3 separate regions of the Homo sapiens genome follow, and all the other regions are linked to region 1. Evidence: promoter capture Hi-C in 16 types of primary human blood cells and fetal thymus (Javierre and others, 2016). All regions are on one chromosome and are shown on one strand. Each heading gives the region's core, a stretch centred on a gene start or on the middle of the fragment in contact. The rest is flanking DNA. Distances are from core to core; before and after follow the strand shown.

Region 1 (5,166 bases), core at 974-3,473:
TTGCCTCGGCCTCCCAAAGTGCTGGGATTACAGGTGAGAGCCACTGTTCTTGGCCTTTTTAAAATTTTTTAAAATTTTATTTATTTTAGAGTTGGGGTCTTGCTATGTTGCCCAGGCTGGTCTCAAACTCCTGGGCTCAAGCCATCCTCCAGCCTCAGCCTCCCAAAGTGTTGGGATTACAGGTGTAAACCACAGTCCTGTGTATTCTCAATAGCTCCCAATGAGATCATCACCAGTGGCAAATTTTAAATCAGGGGTTGGGGATGGAGATGAAGGTGGGGCCACATATTTGACTTTGAAGACGTTTTCCGTGAATTTTGGAGGAGTGTGTGTGCTACTGGCATCTAGTGGGTGGAGGCCAGGGATGCTGTCAAACATCCTACAAAGCATGGAACAGACCCCACATGAAAGGATTATCCCATCCCAAAAGCCAACACTGCTGAGGTGGAGAAACCCAGGGATCTCGCCAATGAGATGAAATCTTCCAACCAGCAGACTTCTTGGCACCTACCTTCTTCCCATCCCTCTTTGTTTCGGAGATGACCCCACTGCAAGACATTAAACAGGCCAGGCGCGGTGGCTCACGCCTGTAATCCTAGCACTTCAGGAGGCCGAGGCCAGCGGATTGCTGGAGGCCAGGAGTTTGAGACCGGCCTGGCCAACATGGCGAAACCCCGTCTCTACTAAAAATATTTTTAAAAATTAGCTGGACATGGTGGTGCGCGCCTGTAATCCCAGCTACTCGGGAGGCTGAAATGTGAGGATTGCTTGAACCCAGGAAGCGGAGGTTGCAGTGGGCCGAGATCATGCCACTGCACTGCAGCCTGGGGAACAGAGTGAGACTCCGTCTAAAAAAACAAAAAAGACATTAAACACACAAATGAAAGTGAGTAATTTCTCAACACTTGGTAACTTGTAAGTACAGCGATACACTTTTATATCTCAGTTTTGAAATTAGCTCTCTAGTTGGCCTGTGAACGTCCCATGCCTGCCAAGTGTGTCATCTGAGACAAGCACTTCAATTTGTTTGAGCAGGCATCTATCAATCTTATTTGTTAGAAAAGGTGCCAGTGAAACCCCAAAGAGTATTGCTAACTAATAACTGTGCTGCAGTTTAGAGTGTTCAAGGTGCTTTCCAGTAACATGTTCTGGAATTTGATCTGACAACGCTTTGGGAGGCGGTTTATTACGATGAGGCTGCGCTGTCGCACTCGAGGAACCAGGTCAGTGACCTGCTCCAGGACACGGGACTGGCGGGGAGGGGAGAGCGCCTGGACTCAGCCTCCAAGTCTCGCACTCGACTCTGCAGGAGTAAAAACTATTCTTGATCCTACCTCTCTCCCTTCTGCAAACAAGCAACAAAATGCTGAAAAGGCATCTTAACTGAAACGGAAGTCAAATGAATTCGCGTGCGATCATGGGAATTTTTGGCTCCTAACCTTGCGAGTAGAGCTGGGTGAGTTCCATTTGTGGTGGGGGAGTGGAAACAGGTTTCTGGGCTTGCAGAAGCCACATCCCGTCCCCACACAACCTAGGACAGGCCAGGTACTTGTAGGTGAGGCTCCGGGGCTCCAGCTAACCTGAGCTACCTGGGCTGGGCTTTGTGCGGGGAGGCAGCAAGCGGGGTGAGCCGGCGACGACGCCGGCCTCTACGCAGTGCGGTGGTGAAGACGTCTCTTCCAGGGAGTCACAGGAAGCAAATCCATCCTTTTAAAGGGCTCGCGTCCCGCGGCCCTGAACCGGCGCGCTGGAGCAGTAATGCGACGTTCTCCGAGGTTCAAGGCTCACGGCCCAGCCCTGTGATCCAGTTTCCTCAGTCTTCGCGGTGTGCACCACTCAGGACGACTTGCGGCTTACGTCCAGGACAAAGGGGGCTTGTCCTTTCTTCAACGTCCTACTGCGCAAAAACGAAGCCCTTCTCAGGCTGCCTGCCTTCCAGGAAAAGCTGCGCCCCCTCAGGAACCTGTGCCCCGCGCGCCTGCCGCCGCCCATTCCCGGCGCGCACCTGGCAGTCCCGGGCTCGAGCCCCGCCCTGCCGCCAGCCAGGTGAGAGGGGCCAGGCCCCGCCCTCGCCGGCCCCGCCCCGCCCCACTGCGCCTGCGCAGTCGGCCGTCGGCGCCAGGCGCCGGGGCGGCGCGGCCGTCGCAGTTCGGCGGGCGCAGTGCGCGTGCGCCCTGACTGTTGGGGGGCGGGCGGCGTCCGCGGCGAGGGAGCGGGGGCGGGGAGGCGCCGTCTGGCTCAGGCTGGGGCCGGCGGGAGCGCGAACGAGCGACGGCGGAACCCGTGGGCCTGTGGACTGCAGCCTCGGCGGTCAGCAGGTGAGGCCCGCGCAGGGCGGGCGTGGGTCGTGAGGGAGTGCGGGCTGCGGGCGGGCCAGCGGTGCGGCGGTCTGCCCGGGGGCGCAGGTGAGCGCGGCCCGCGCGGGGCCCGGCGGAGCATTGTCCAGCGGGCGGCGCCCGCATAGCGCCCCCTGCCGGCTGGGCCGCGGCGGGGACCCGGGCTGGGCGGGCCTGGGCCTCGGGGCGGGCGCGCGCTCCTTTGTTCGCCGGCCCCTACTCCTCCGTGCCCCCATCCCCGCCGCCCCCCGCCAACATGGCCGCCACCCTCTCGTCCCCAGTTCCCCGGCCGCCGCCGGCCCCTTAGCGCGCGCTTTGTTTGGAGCCGGGCGGGGAGGCCGGCGGGCAGGGGGCGGCGGCGCTGCGCAGTCGGGCGCGGGGAGGGGGCGCTGCGCCAGAATGCAGGCGGGGAGGGGGAACGTTGCATAATCCCGGGCCGGCGACGGGGGCGGGGCGGGGGGAGGGGCGGGACCCCGGCGCGACGGGTCGGGTCACCCCGGGGACGCGGGCCTGCCCTGGGGCCACCCCTCCCAGGCCCGGGGGATGGCCGCGGACCTTGTAAGTTGCAGGCTCCGCGGTTCGCGGCGCCGGAACGCCCACCGGCCAGTCCTCGCGCCCGCGCAGCCCCTTTCCTGATGCGCCGTCTCTTCGCCGCCCTCCGTGGGGGCGCGGCGAACGGGTTGCGTGCTCTGGAGAGAGACAGGCACTTTTCCTCTCCATCGTGAGTGACCTTGGGTGTATTCGTCAAGGAATGTGTTGAAACGAATTGTGCGATGCGGGAACTGCGCAGCGCCTCGGGTTTGGCTTTCTCGAGCATTTTATTGCATTGATTGTGCGTTCTCGATTTTACAGAGGTTCGTTTTGAGTAATGGCTTCAGTAATGTCATCGTATACGCATTTCAAAGTTTGTTTATGGAATTGTTTTTACATTTATTCTCTTTTTACTTATAATTTTTGAATCAGATTTTGTGTTTTGGAGAGATTTTCCGTACGTGGTGGAAGTGTTTTCACTCATGGTAAATATGGATTGTTTGGCAATTTTATCACGTTAATCACAAAACAATACCAGGAACATTTAAATGTCTTAAAGGATTTCACTCTACATGACTTGTGCCAGAGACGACACACGTACCAAAACGCGATTACCTGTCTTAACTTTTTTTCTATTGGAATTTTCTGGAAGGAATTCCATGCAATCCGAAAGGATTAATGGAGGGTACAGTAATTGCTTTCTACATCGCTTTTGTTAAGCAGTGAAAATTAAACTTGGAGATTTATACCTGGATATACTGAGTTTTTTTTAACACTCTTTTGAAGTGAAATTTTGGAAAGGGCAGGTGAAATGAGGCTTCTTCCAACCTCCCCACTCTCCCCCCTCAGCTTTAGTTAAAAGGCAAACACCAAAATATTGTAGTACCTGGTAATTTACAGAACGTTCGTTATCAGATTTGATAATTATATATTAAGGTTGTAAAGAATGTGTATGCCAGAATTATAGGTAGTAGATCCTAGATTCTTAGGAAAAATAGTTTCTTTATAATCTTTTGAGTAGTGAAATGGTTACTTTTACAATGGTTATGAACTGGGTCAAGGCAAAAGGGCCACTATATGTCTTCAGTCATCTTTCTATGCCTGAAATCCAGGAAACAGTGAAAATGGATGTTCCCTGGAACAGCCATTGCGATGCCATATGTTGGTCATTGGTGTCCTTAAAGTGTATCTCAGATAATTGTGTGTCTCCCTTACTTGTGAACTGAGGGGTCACAATATTGATGTGCCTGATGTGTGCCCCTCTGCATTTCGTGGGTAGTGTCTCAAATTTGGCTATCATATTGATGAGAGTTACTAATTTGGTTTTAGCTGCCAGAGGTTTAGGTGGTTTTCACTTCCAGTGACTTACCTGATTGCACATAGTTACAACGTTACTGGTTGCACTCCTTCATTGCTAGCATCTTTTTTCTAGTATATTCGATATACATTCTTTTGGTTTATCCTTTAAAATATTTGCTGAGATAGCATTTAAATGTTAATGCTGTATTTATATTTGTTGGATGCTTAATTCAATGTGTCTTCTTTCCCTTTCCATGAATGAAAAGAAATTGGAAGAAGAGAATCAACTATTTCGTGCAAGTATTTTGTTCAGTTTAGAAGATGTTATGGTATTGTGAAAACAATATTCTGGAGTTAGACATGGAATCACAATGGCCTTCCAAGTCAGAACAGTCTGGGTTGAAATTGACTCCTTACTGGTCCAAAGCCACATAACTGATTCATCATGCAGCCTTTTTTTAAAAAAAGTTTTTTTTTAAAGCTACTCAAATATGTCAGTTTTATTTTCTCTGTACACACATTTGTTACTGAAAATTGCAAAAACAGCACATTGAAGGTCCTCTTATTGGAGTTCACATTTTTGAAAACCAGAAAATTTAATAATTATGCTCTTGCCAAACTACCCACTGTTTTCTTTATATTCTTGCCCCACAAGTTGCTTTACTTGAACTCTTGGGTTGGGCTTCATCTCACTGACTTCAGGCTTCTAACACACATAGGACACTTAGGACCTACTGGCTCTTTGGGTCACATCAGGGAGGAGAGCTGAAGTATGTTGAAGTTACTCAAATACATTCAAGCTACATAGATCTCTGATAAATTATTGGTGGTATGGTAGAAATGAAAATATACCCAAAAAAATCACAGAACTGTTTATTAAAATTATTGGTATACAGGCTCTTCTAACATAGATTAGCTTTCTCAACCTAATACATAAAATTACCAGCAAGAAAAAAAAAGTACAAGAATGACAGTTTATGGTTGAATTGGCTTGGTGTCA
Region 2 (5,166 bases), core at 863-3,362, 220 kb before region 1:
GGGAGGTTGTGGGGGGGTAGGAATGTTGAGCTATGTGCCCAGGAAGCAGAGAAAATGGGGTTTTGTTGGACAGCTGGCAGGCTCTGCCATGGTGGAGGAGGAGATATCGGAATCAAGTCTTATTATTTTTCTCTTTCTGAGTCACTTGATCTTTTTTAGAAGATGCCCAAATTATCTTCTCTTTATTTTTGAAGTCTAATTGCTTTACCAGGGTATGGCTGAGTGATGACTTTTCTATATCATTTTCCTCCATAACATGGTGCACTTTTTAAATCTGCAGATTTGATTCTTCTCTCATTTCAAAAAAATTATTTTGAATCATCATCCTAAATACTTACATGTTACATTTGTTTAGTCCTCTTCTATAGGCACATAAATCCATTTTTTTAAACAAATACACTTATAAGATTTACTGTTATCACAAGGTCACATTCCTGTAGAATATAGAAATATGTGTAGCTTTCAGTTTACTGTCTGCATTTTTTGTTTTTAAAGAGAAGAGGTCTTGCTCTGTCACCCAGCCTGGAGAGCAGTAGTGTGATCATAGCTCGCTACAGTCTCTTAACTCCTGGGCTCAAGCAGTCCTCCCATCTCAGCCTCCTGAGTAGCTGGAACTATAGGGGCATAACACCATGCTCAGCTAATATTTTTTAATTAAAAAAAAAATTTGTAGAGATGAAGTCTCATTTTGTTGCCCAGGCTGGTCTCAAGCTCCTGGCTTCAAGCAATTCTTCTGCCTTGACCTCCCAAGGTGCTGGGATTACAGGTGTGACACAATACACCAAGCCAAGTCTGTGTTTTTCAAATTGCAGCCTGCAACTCATGATGGGGTCATGAAATCTATTTAGTGGATTGTAATCTGCTGGATTGGTTTCCTACTGTTGCATAACAAATTATGACAAAGTGAGCAGCTTATAACAACACATATTTATCATCTCACAGTTTCTGTAGGTCAGGAATCTGCAAACAGCTTTGCTGGGTCTTTTGTTCAGGGTTTCATAGGGCTGCAATCAAGATGCCATCTGGGCTCCATTCTTATCTGGAGGCTCAACTGGGGAAGAATCCACTTCTAAGCTCATTCAGGCCTTTGACAGAATTTATTTCCTTGTGGCTGTATAGCTGAGGACTCCTGCCTTTTGTTGGTTGTTGGTGGGAGCCCACCCTTGGTCCTAGAGGCTGCCCACAGTTGCTGGAGGCCATCCATAGCTCCTTACCACATGGGCTTCCTCAACGTGGCACTCCATTTACTGAGCCAGCAAGGATGCTCTCTTACTCCAGTCTGATGACATAATATAGTCCTGGGAGTGGCACATGATCACCTTTGTCATGTCCTATTAACCCATAGGAGCATAAGTCACAGGTCCTGCCCAGAGTTGAGGGGAGGGGAGTATCCAAAGGTGTCAACACCAGCAGGTACAGTTCACTGGGGATCATCTTAGGGTCTTATCACCACATCTATATTTAGAAAATCGAATAGGATTATATAGAAGATACCAGAATGTATCACATGTAATAGGAGTATGTACTTCTAAATAAAAATTGTATTTAGTAATGTAAATTGTGTGTGTGTGTGTGTGTGTGTGTGTGTGATGAAAATGTATTTCTTACCAATGGTCTAGAGCAAAACAGTCTGAAAGCCCCTGACCTGGGAGGTTTTCTTGCAAACACTGAAGATAAGACTGCTTTTGAATTGTACATGCCCTGGTGCTGCCTGGCTTGCTGTCTCTGTTGAGTGTGCTTTCATGGCAACCAAGACGCGAACATTCTCCAGCCTGCTCTACTGTATTTCTGCTGGTAGTTGCAGTAGCCATCACAGTTCTTGAATTCTCAAAAGACTTAAATCAATGTCATATTACTTCCTCTAAAGTTTTCTCACCAGCTCCTCCCGTGATCTCCCATGCCATGCTGGATCTGCACACTGTAGGGAGTGCCTTCTCACTTGTGCCTTTTCCCTGCTCCCCAGCTGTGTACAAGGTCTGGTCCTGTTGTGTGCTCAGGTTTACGAGTTTCCCCTGCCCTTGGCAGCCCTGCTTCGAGCATATTGAAGTTGGGCATTAGAGATGTTCTCTTATTAACACCAAGATTGCCATTTCTGTTCTTAGTCTCCTTGTCATTTTCTTATGGTTTAAGAGAAAAGAGGGGTCTGAGAAGTCCTTACTTTGCCATATTTAAGTCCTGCTCACCTGAGGCAGCTCTGAGGCTTTGAAACAGGCCCCACTATCCTCCCACTGCCTCTGAAGCCTCCCTGAGGCCACTCCCACAGGCAGTGAGGCCTGTATATGCCACATCCTCAATGTCTTCCCTGCCTTCTTGGATGGTGGCCACTTCAGGATAGGGAGCTCAGCTGGGAATGGGCACAACCTTGACTGCCCTACCAAGACTCCTATTTCTTCTGCAATTTGGCTACATTTTGTGTCAGAGATGTTTATTGCTGTGGGATTGAGCCCATGGGTTTTGGACTCAGTTTCCTGTGGCCTGCCACGGGGCGCCTTCGTTTCCACCTGAGTTGGCCTTTATGGCTCAGTCCCTCCAGGGCTGGGGCTGACATTTCACCTCCTTCCTGAGATCTATCCTCCTCCTCCCCCTCCACCATCTCTCCTACTTTTGGAGATTTTTGTTTGTTTTGTTTTTGAGACAGGGTCTTGCTCTGTCACCCAGGTGACAGTGCAGTGGTGTGATCATAGCTCACTGCAGCCTCGACCTCCTGGCCTTAAGCAATCTTCCTGCCTCAGCCTCCCAAGTAGCTGGGACTACAGGCGTGTGTCACCACACCTGGCTAATTTTTTAATTTTTTGTAGAGATGGGGGTCTCACTGTGTTGCCCAGGCTGATCTCAAACTCCTAGGCTCAAGTGATCTTCTAGCCTCAGCCTTCCAAAGTGTTGAGATTACAGATGTGATTTTTGTTCTCATTTTTCTTCCCTTCTGTTAGGTTTCTATCTATTCAGGAGAATTATTAGATCTTTGTGATTTTAATAATTTTGCCTTTATTTTCCCCCCACCTTGAAGAAACGAAAGTGGTGAGTTCAGAAGATCCCAATTACCTCTCCCTATACCTGTCCCTGCAGTCAGAGTGAAGGGTGTCTCCTTTCTAAGGTTTTCTTTGTATCTTCCCTCGTCTCCCTCCCTTTCTCAATAACGTGTGTTGGCAAGAATCAATGTCATTACTTCCTCTAAAGTTTTAAATATCAGTGAAAATTCTCAAGATTTTGTTCACCCACTTCTTTCCCCTTATTTGGGGGAGTGTTCTGAGGCTAGATACTTCTGCAAACCAAGTCAGGCTGTTCTGCTTCTTTCTTTCTGTGAGCACCACTCTGCAGAGGTCATGGCCATAAAGTCTCCTTTCTCATCATTGGCTGAGGAATGAGAGCTCATGTGTGTGCACATGCGTGTGTGTGCTTCTTGTTTCTTTTCTCTGTTGTTCATTTTGTCAGATGTTGTAGAGATAACCCTACAACCATCTCTCAGCCTTCTTTTTCTGGAAGTTGTAGATGTGATTTTCTAGATTATATATATATATATATTTATATATATTTTTATATATTTATATATATATAATATATATATTGTTTTGAGACAGAGTTTCACTCTTGTCACCCAGGCTGGAGTGCAAAGGCACGATCTGGGCTCACTGCAACCTCCGACTCCTGGGTTCAAGTGATTATCCTGCCTCAACCTCCTGAGTAGCTGGGATTACAGGCACACGCCACCATGCCCAGCTAATTTTTGTATTTTTAGTAGAGATGAGGTTTCACCATGTTGGCCAGGCTGGTCTTGAACTCCTGACCTCAGGTGATCCACCTGCCTCGGCCTCCCAAAGTACTGGGATTACAGGCATAAGCCACCACACCCAGCCAATAGTATAATATTTTTAAGGAGTTATTTTCTTTTCTAAAAGTGCCACAGTCCCATCCTTGCCTGTGGAAGTGTCTCAGCACACCACCACATGCATAACCTAAAACTAGCTATGCCCTGGAAGACTCTCTCTTTCATGCCCAAGTTGAAAACAGTGCAACACTAGGTGTGATGCAGTCTTTCTTGATTTCTTCTCCTTTGGCTGTCTCTCCCATCATCTGTGCTTCAGCGCTTACCATTTTCCTAAAAGGAAAGTGGAAAAGCTCAGTTATGCAAATAAATGCAGCACAGACTGATGCTACAGTCAAATTCAGTTAGCATTACTTCAGGGGAACAAAATCAGTTTTAGGTAACAAACAAACAAAACTTCCAGGAAGAGAATGAGCTAGTTAACAAACAAGCAAATAAATTGTTTGTGGCACAATAACTTTAATCTTGTGAGCACCTGCCTCCACATTTTGCTGTCCAAATAAAGTCAGATTTGATTTGCTTCTTGAGGTGACCTAGCTGTTCATTTTAAACATCTCAATGTAGTGGCCATCAGGAACAGCTGCAGCTTTGCTGGTGGGTCTTAGCAAGAAAGGGCCTTAATGCTCACAAACCCACCATTTCAAGAAAGAAAAAGATAAAACACAAACAAAACCACAGCTGTAAGAGAGCTACATTTGTGGAATGATAAGGAAACAGCTTTTCTGGAACTTAGCCACTGCAGGACTCTGAGGGATGAGGTGAACAAGCTGAACAGGAATCCAATGTTTTCCCGGGTGACAAGTGTGTGAGGTTGCTATAGGCAAGGAGATTGCATGAGTTCCAATGATTAAGCTAAGCTTTCATTTCGATTTGTGCAAAATGAGTAAAAATTAATAAGCACAGGGTGTTCTCATGAAGCTGACGTTGAAACATAAAAGTAGGTGTGCTGCATACTTCACACCACAGCAAACCCTCCCTTTTTGAGTTATTAGGTTTTGGGGACATGGGGTGATGCTCTGAGACACTCAGTGATTGCTTTCAGAAACCAGATTCTAATGAGTATTTTTACTAGTATCAAGTCATTATTCATTCTGCAAATATTTTTGCCATATAATAAATAAGTCACTGTTCAAGTGATAGATAACTATGCAGATGACAGGACACCATATGGTGGTTACAAAACAGAATTTAAAATCTTAAAGGACAAAACACTCATATTCATTTGCAGCAATTAATTAGGGGACGGATGGAGACCATCTGCTGTGACTCACTAGTCCCCCAAGGACACATACACAATGGTAAGTTTCACATTGGTTTATCTTGGTTCCCATAGTCCAAGCAGG
Region 3 (5,166 bases), core at 1,994-4,493, 180 kb before region 1:
GTGTTTTAGACATGAAGTCCTTACACATGCCTATGCCCTGAATGGTATTGCCTAGGTTTTCTTCTAGGGTTTTTATGGTTTTAGGTCTAACATTTAAGTCTTTAATCCATCTTGAATTAATTTTTGTATAAGGTGTAAGGAAGGGATCCCGTTTCAGTTTTCTACATATGGCTAGCCAGTTTTCCCAGCACTATTTATTAAGTAGGGAATCCTTTCCCCATTTCTTGTTTTTGTCAGGTTTGTCAAAGATCAGATGGTTGTAGATGTGTGGCATTATTTCTGAGGGCTCTGTTCTGTTCCATTGGTCTATATCTTTGTTTCAGTACCAGTACCATACTGTTTTGGTTACTGTAGCCTTGTAGTATAGTTTCAAGTCAGGTAGCATGAAGCCTCCAGCTTTGTTCTTTTGGCTTAGGATTGACTTGGCAATGTGAGCTCTTTTTTGGTTCCATATGAAATTTAAGGGAGTTTTTTCCAATTCTGTGAAGAAAGTCATTGGTAGCTTGATGGGGATGGCAATGAATCTATAAATTACCTTGGTCAGTATGGCCATTTTCACTATATTGATTCTTCTTATCCATGAGCATGGAATGTTCTTCCATTTGCTTGTGTCCTCTTTTATCTGATGAACATTGATGCAAAAATCCTCAATAAAATACTGGCAAACTGAATCCAGCAGCACATCTAAAAGATTATCCACCATGACCAAGTAGGCTTCATCCATGGGATGCAAGGCTGGTTCAACATATGCAAATCAATAAACGTAATCCAGCATATAAACAGAACCAAAGACAAAAACCACATGGTTATCTCAATACATGCAGAAAAGGCCTTTGACAAAATTCAACAGCCCTTCATGCTAAAAACTCTCAATAAATTAGGTATTGATGGGACGTATCTCAAAATAATAAGAGCTATTTATGACAAACCCACAGCCAATATCATACTGAATGGGCAAAAACTGGAAGCATTCCCTTTGAAAACTGGGACAAGACAGGGATGCCCTCTTTCACCACTCCCATTCAACATAGTGTTGGAAGTTCTGGCCAGGGCAATCAGGCAGGAAAAAGAAATAAAGGGTATTCAGTTAGGAAAAGAGGAAGTCAAATTGTCTCTGTTTGCAGATGACATGATTGTATATTTAGAAAACCCCATTGTCTCAGCCCAAAATCTCCTTAAGCTGATAAGCAACTTCAGCAAAGTCTCAGGATACAAAATCAATGTGCAAAAATCACAAGCATTCTTATACACCAATAACATACAAACAGAGAGCCAAATCATGAGTGAACTCCCATTCAGAACTGCTTCAAAGAGAATAAAATACCTAGGAATCCAACCTACAAGGGATGTGAAAGAGCTCTTCATGATGTGCTTTGATGAACAGGAGTTCTTGATTTTAATGTCGTCAAATATATGGATCTAGTGTGACTTTTCTGATATTATATTTTAAATTTGTGATTATCAGCGCCTTTGTTATTGTTTATTTCTAAGGTTTTTGTTTTGTTTCTGAGGATATTAATTATTTTTTAAGGTTTTAAAGAATTAGTTGACCAACTTCAGAAGGGCCAACTTCCAATAAAGAGAGTTTCTGAGAGTGAACTGAAAAAATGGTAGCAGGAGGAATCAAAAAATAATTCAAGAAGATATATCATAACTGAAGAATTTGACTTGCCAAATGAAAAGGATCCACCAAATGGGGAGCACATTAAATGAGATTTGTCCCCCATCAAACACATCATTAGTGACCTTCAGAATCCTGGGAACGGAAAGATGACTTTCCAAGTTTCCTTAGAGGAAAAGCAGGTCAAATGCAAAGAGTAGGAATCAGAATGGCTTTGAAATTCTCAACAGCAACAGTAGAAGCTAAAAAACAATGGAGGATTATCTTCAACATTCGGATTGCCTATAGATTCTTCAATACCCAGACAAAGTATGAATTAAATGTGAAGATGGAATAAAGACATATTTAGACATGAAGAAGTTGCAAAATTTACTTTCTATTCTATTGTCTCTGGAAGCTGAGAGGATGTTGTTGATCAAAATGAGGAAATAAAACAACAAAGAACATGATTAGCATTCAGAAAACAGTGGGTTCCAAACAAAGGAGAGATGAAGGGAGTCCTCAGGACAGGACAGGAGAAAGAGTCCAGGATGCCAGCCACAAGCAGGCTTGGAGAACAGACAGCCCAGAACTCTAGAATATTTTTTCAAGAAGACAATAATAGTGCTAATGTGTTTGAACACATTGAGAGAAGCTTTTCATGACTGAAGTAGAACTTGAAATGCGTAAGTGATAAATATATGGAAAAATAAGCAACCAACAAAAGATTATTATTAACTCAAGAACAAACATAAATTTGTTAGAAACTGTAGGGTAGTGGCCACACCTACAGAATACAGATCCAGAATGCCTGGGGTTCAAATTCTGGTTTTGCCACTTAACGGCTGAATTACCTTGGGCAAATCACTTCATCTCCATGGTCCTCATATATAAAATCAGGATTATTATAACAGTCTTGTGAAAGTTTTGTGAAAATTAAAGTCCTTGGATCTTTTTCTGGCCCAGAGAAAGCCCCATGTAAATGTTAACGGTCTTTATTTTTTATTTTATTTATTTTTTTAGAGACTGGGTCTGGCTGTGTTGCCCAGGATGGAGTGCAGTGGTGCGAGCTCAGCTCACTGCAGCCCTGACCTCCCGGGCTCAGGCAATTCTCCTGCTTCAGCCTCCTGAGTAGCTAGGACTACAGGTGTGCACTGCCACACTCAGCTGATTTTTTTTTTTTTTTTTTGTAGTAACAAGGTCTTGCTGTGTTGCCCAGGTTGTATTAACTATTGTGGTTGTCACGACCACTACCACCGTCACCATCATCATTGTATATGGTCCATGGTTCAGCTGGAAAGGTGCAACTAATAAAAATGCTGACTACTAAGCTTAAGAAAAAAATGTCTATTTAATTAGATTGGGAGAAAGTGAAGACAGAAATTGCTTGTCAGGTTAGGAAAGGGAAGGAGGGAAGGAGATAAATCATCTTCCACATTGGGAAGTCTTAGAGAAATTTTTAATCTGCAAAACCAAATAAGTAACAATATAGGCATTTTTGTTGAAGACATGGAGGAAGATATCAAAAGGTTAGCTAAGAAAGTTTACAAGAGTTGCTCTGTGGGAGTGGGAAATGGGTGAATAGACACAGGGAACTTATTCTTTGTAACAATCTTCGTCAATTAGATGTATAGATATTTTAATTCTAAAATTAAAACAACGTTTTTCTTTGAAAAAGAAATCGCCATGTCAAGTTGTTTCACTGGATAATTCTGTTTAAGGAAGAATCAATGCTAACAATAAGCAATTTTTTCCAGATCATATAAGAAGAGAAAATATTTCCCTTCTCATTGTATGGGACCAGTATCACACTAATACCAAAACCAGACAAAGAATTACAAAAAAAGAAACTTACAGATCAATATCCTTCATGCATGTAGACACAAAAACCTTTAAACAAGTATTAACAAATAGGCTTCAGTGATTTTTAAGAAGAATTACACACCATAACTAAATGAAGCTTATTCCAGAAATGCAAGGTTGGTTCAATATTAAAAAATCAGTCAATGTAATCCACCACATTAACAGAATAAAATTCACATGATGTTATCAATTGATGCAGTAAAGTATTTGACAAAATTTGTTTATTTAAATAAATTTTATTGTGTACAAACATGATGTTATAAGATACATATATAAGAAAATGGTTACTATAGTGAAACAAATTAACATCTCCATCATCTCATTTAGTTATCCATAATTCCTCCTGTGGCAAAAACAGCTATAATCTACCCATTAAGGAAAAATCCTGAATATGATACCCTATTATTCACTGTAGTCTTCATGCTGTTCATTAGACCTTTCCACTTGTTCATTCTACATATTTATTTGCTACTTTGTATCTTTTGACCTAAACCTCTCCATTTCCTCCCCAACTCCAACCTTGGTAGCCACTGTTTTATTCTCTGTCTCTATATACTTGATCTCTTTTTTTCTAGAGACCCCACATAAGTGAGATCATGCAATATTTTTCTTTCTGTGTCTAGCTTATTTCACTTAGTATAATATGTTCCAAGTCCACCTATGTTGTGGCAAATGGCAGATCTTCCTTTTTGTTGTTGTTTTTGTTTTGTTTTTAGACAGGGTTTTGTTCTGTCACCCAGGCTAGAGTACAGTGGTGTGATCTTCACTTACTGCAGCCTCGAACTCCTGGGGTCAAGCAATTCTCCTGCCTCAGTCTCCCTAGTAGATGGGACTACAGGCATACACCACCATGCCCAGCTAATTTTTATTTTTTTTTATAGATATGGGGCTCTCATATATTTTTTATAGATATGTTGCCCAACCTGGTCTTGAACTCCTGGCTTCAGGCTATTCTCACATCTTGGCTTCCCAGACTGCTGGGATTACAGGTGTGAGCCACTACACCCGGCCAAGATCTCCTTTTTTTTTTTTTTTTTTTTTTTTTTGAGACGGAGTGTTGCTCTGTTGCCCAGGCTGGAGTGCAGAGGTGCCATCTTGGCTCACTGCAAGCTCTGCCTCTCGGGTTCAAGTCATTCTCCTGCCTCAGCCTCTCGAGTAGCTGGGACTACAGGTGCCCACCACCATGCCCGGCTAATTTTTTGTACTTTTAGTAGAGACAGGGTTTCACTGTGTTAGCCAGGATGGTCTCGATCTCCTGACCTCGTGATCCACCTGCCTCGGCCTCCCCAAAGTGCCGGGATTACAGGCATGAGCCACTGCACCCAGCCCAAGATCTCCCTTTTTAAAGGCTAAATAATATTCCATTGTCTATTTATGCCATAGTTTATCCATTCATCCATTAATAGACACCTAGGTTGTTTTCATACGTTGGCCATTGCGAAAAATGCTGCAACATGGGTGTGCAGATATCCTTACCAGGTAGAGATTTCATTTCCTTTGGATATATGCCTAGAAGAGGGATTACTAGGCTGCATTTGACAAAACTTAATACCTTTCATGATTTTAAAAAAATTCTGAGAAAACTAGGAATAAAGGTGAACTCCCTCAACCTGATTAAAAAAAAAAATTCCTGCAAAACATAACAGTGAAAGACCGAATGCTCTCCTCGTGAAATCAGGAGCAAACACAGCAAAGGTCCCCAC

Evidence for each region. The method cuts DNA at HindIII sites, captures the fragments that hold promoters and counts their contacts. A CHiCAGO score of 5 or more calls a contact.
Region 2: a contact is called between a fragment that was not itself captured here and the fragment with the promoter of SPIN1 in region 1, in 1 of 17 cell types (M2 macrophages). The highest score is 5.8, in M2 macrophages.
Region 3: a fragment that was not itself captured here is called in contact with the fragment with the promoter of SPIN1 in region 1 in 1 of 17 cell types (total CD8 T cells); the score reaches 5.8 in total CD8 T cells.

What each region holds. Positions count from the first base shown.
Region 1 is chr9:88,386,221-88,391,386 of GRCh38, forward strand. It overlaps SPIN1 (spindlin 1), which reads left to right and starts at 2,224. Exons shown (of 6, transcript NM_006717.3): 1 at 2,224-2,318. LOC124902204 (a long non-coding RNA gene) reads right to left here and starts at 2,979. Exons shown (of 2, transcript XR_007061652.1): 1 at 2,892-2,979; 2 at 1-1,897. RefSeq lists an enhancer at 1,040-1,899 and a silencer at 1,977-2,876. The HindIII fragment of the contact is 9,781 bases long and covers 1-5,166 here.
Region 2 is chr9:88,161,797-88,166,962 of GRCh38, forward strand. No RefSeq gene overlaps it. Among named protein-coding and RNA genes, the nearest start is that of SPATA31C2, 26 kb to the left of the region's middle. The HindIII fragment of the contact is 5,131 bases long and covers 1-4,678 here.
Region 3 is chr9:88,209,787-88,214,952 of GRCh38, forward strand. No RefSeq gene overlaps it. Among named protein-coding and RNA genes, the nearest start is that of SPATA31C2, 74 kb to the left of the region's middle. The HindIII fragment of the contact is 629 bases long and covers 2,930-3,558 here.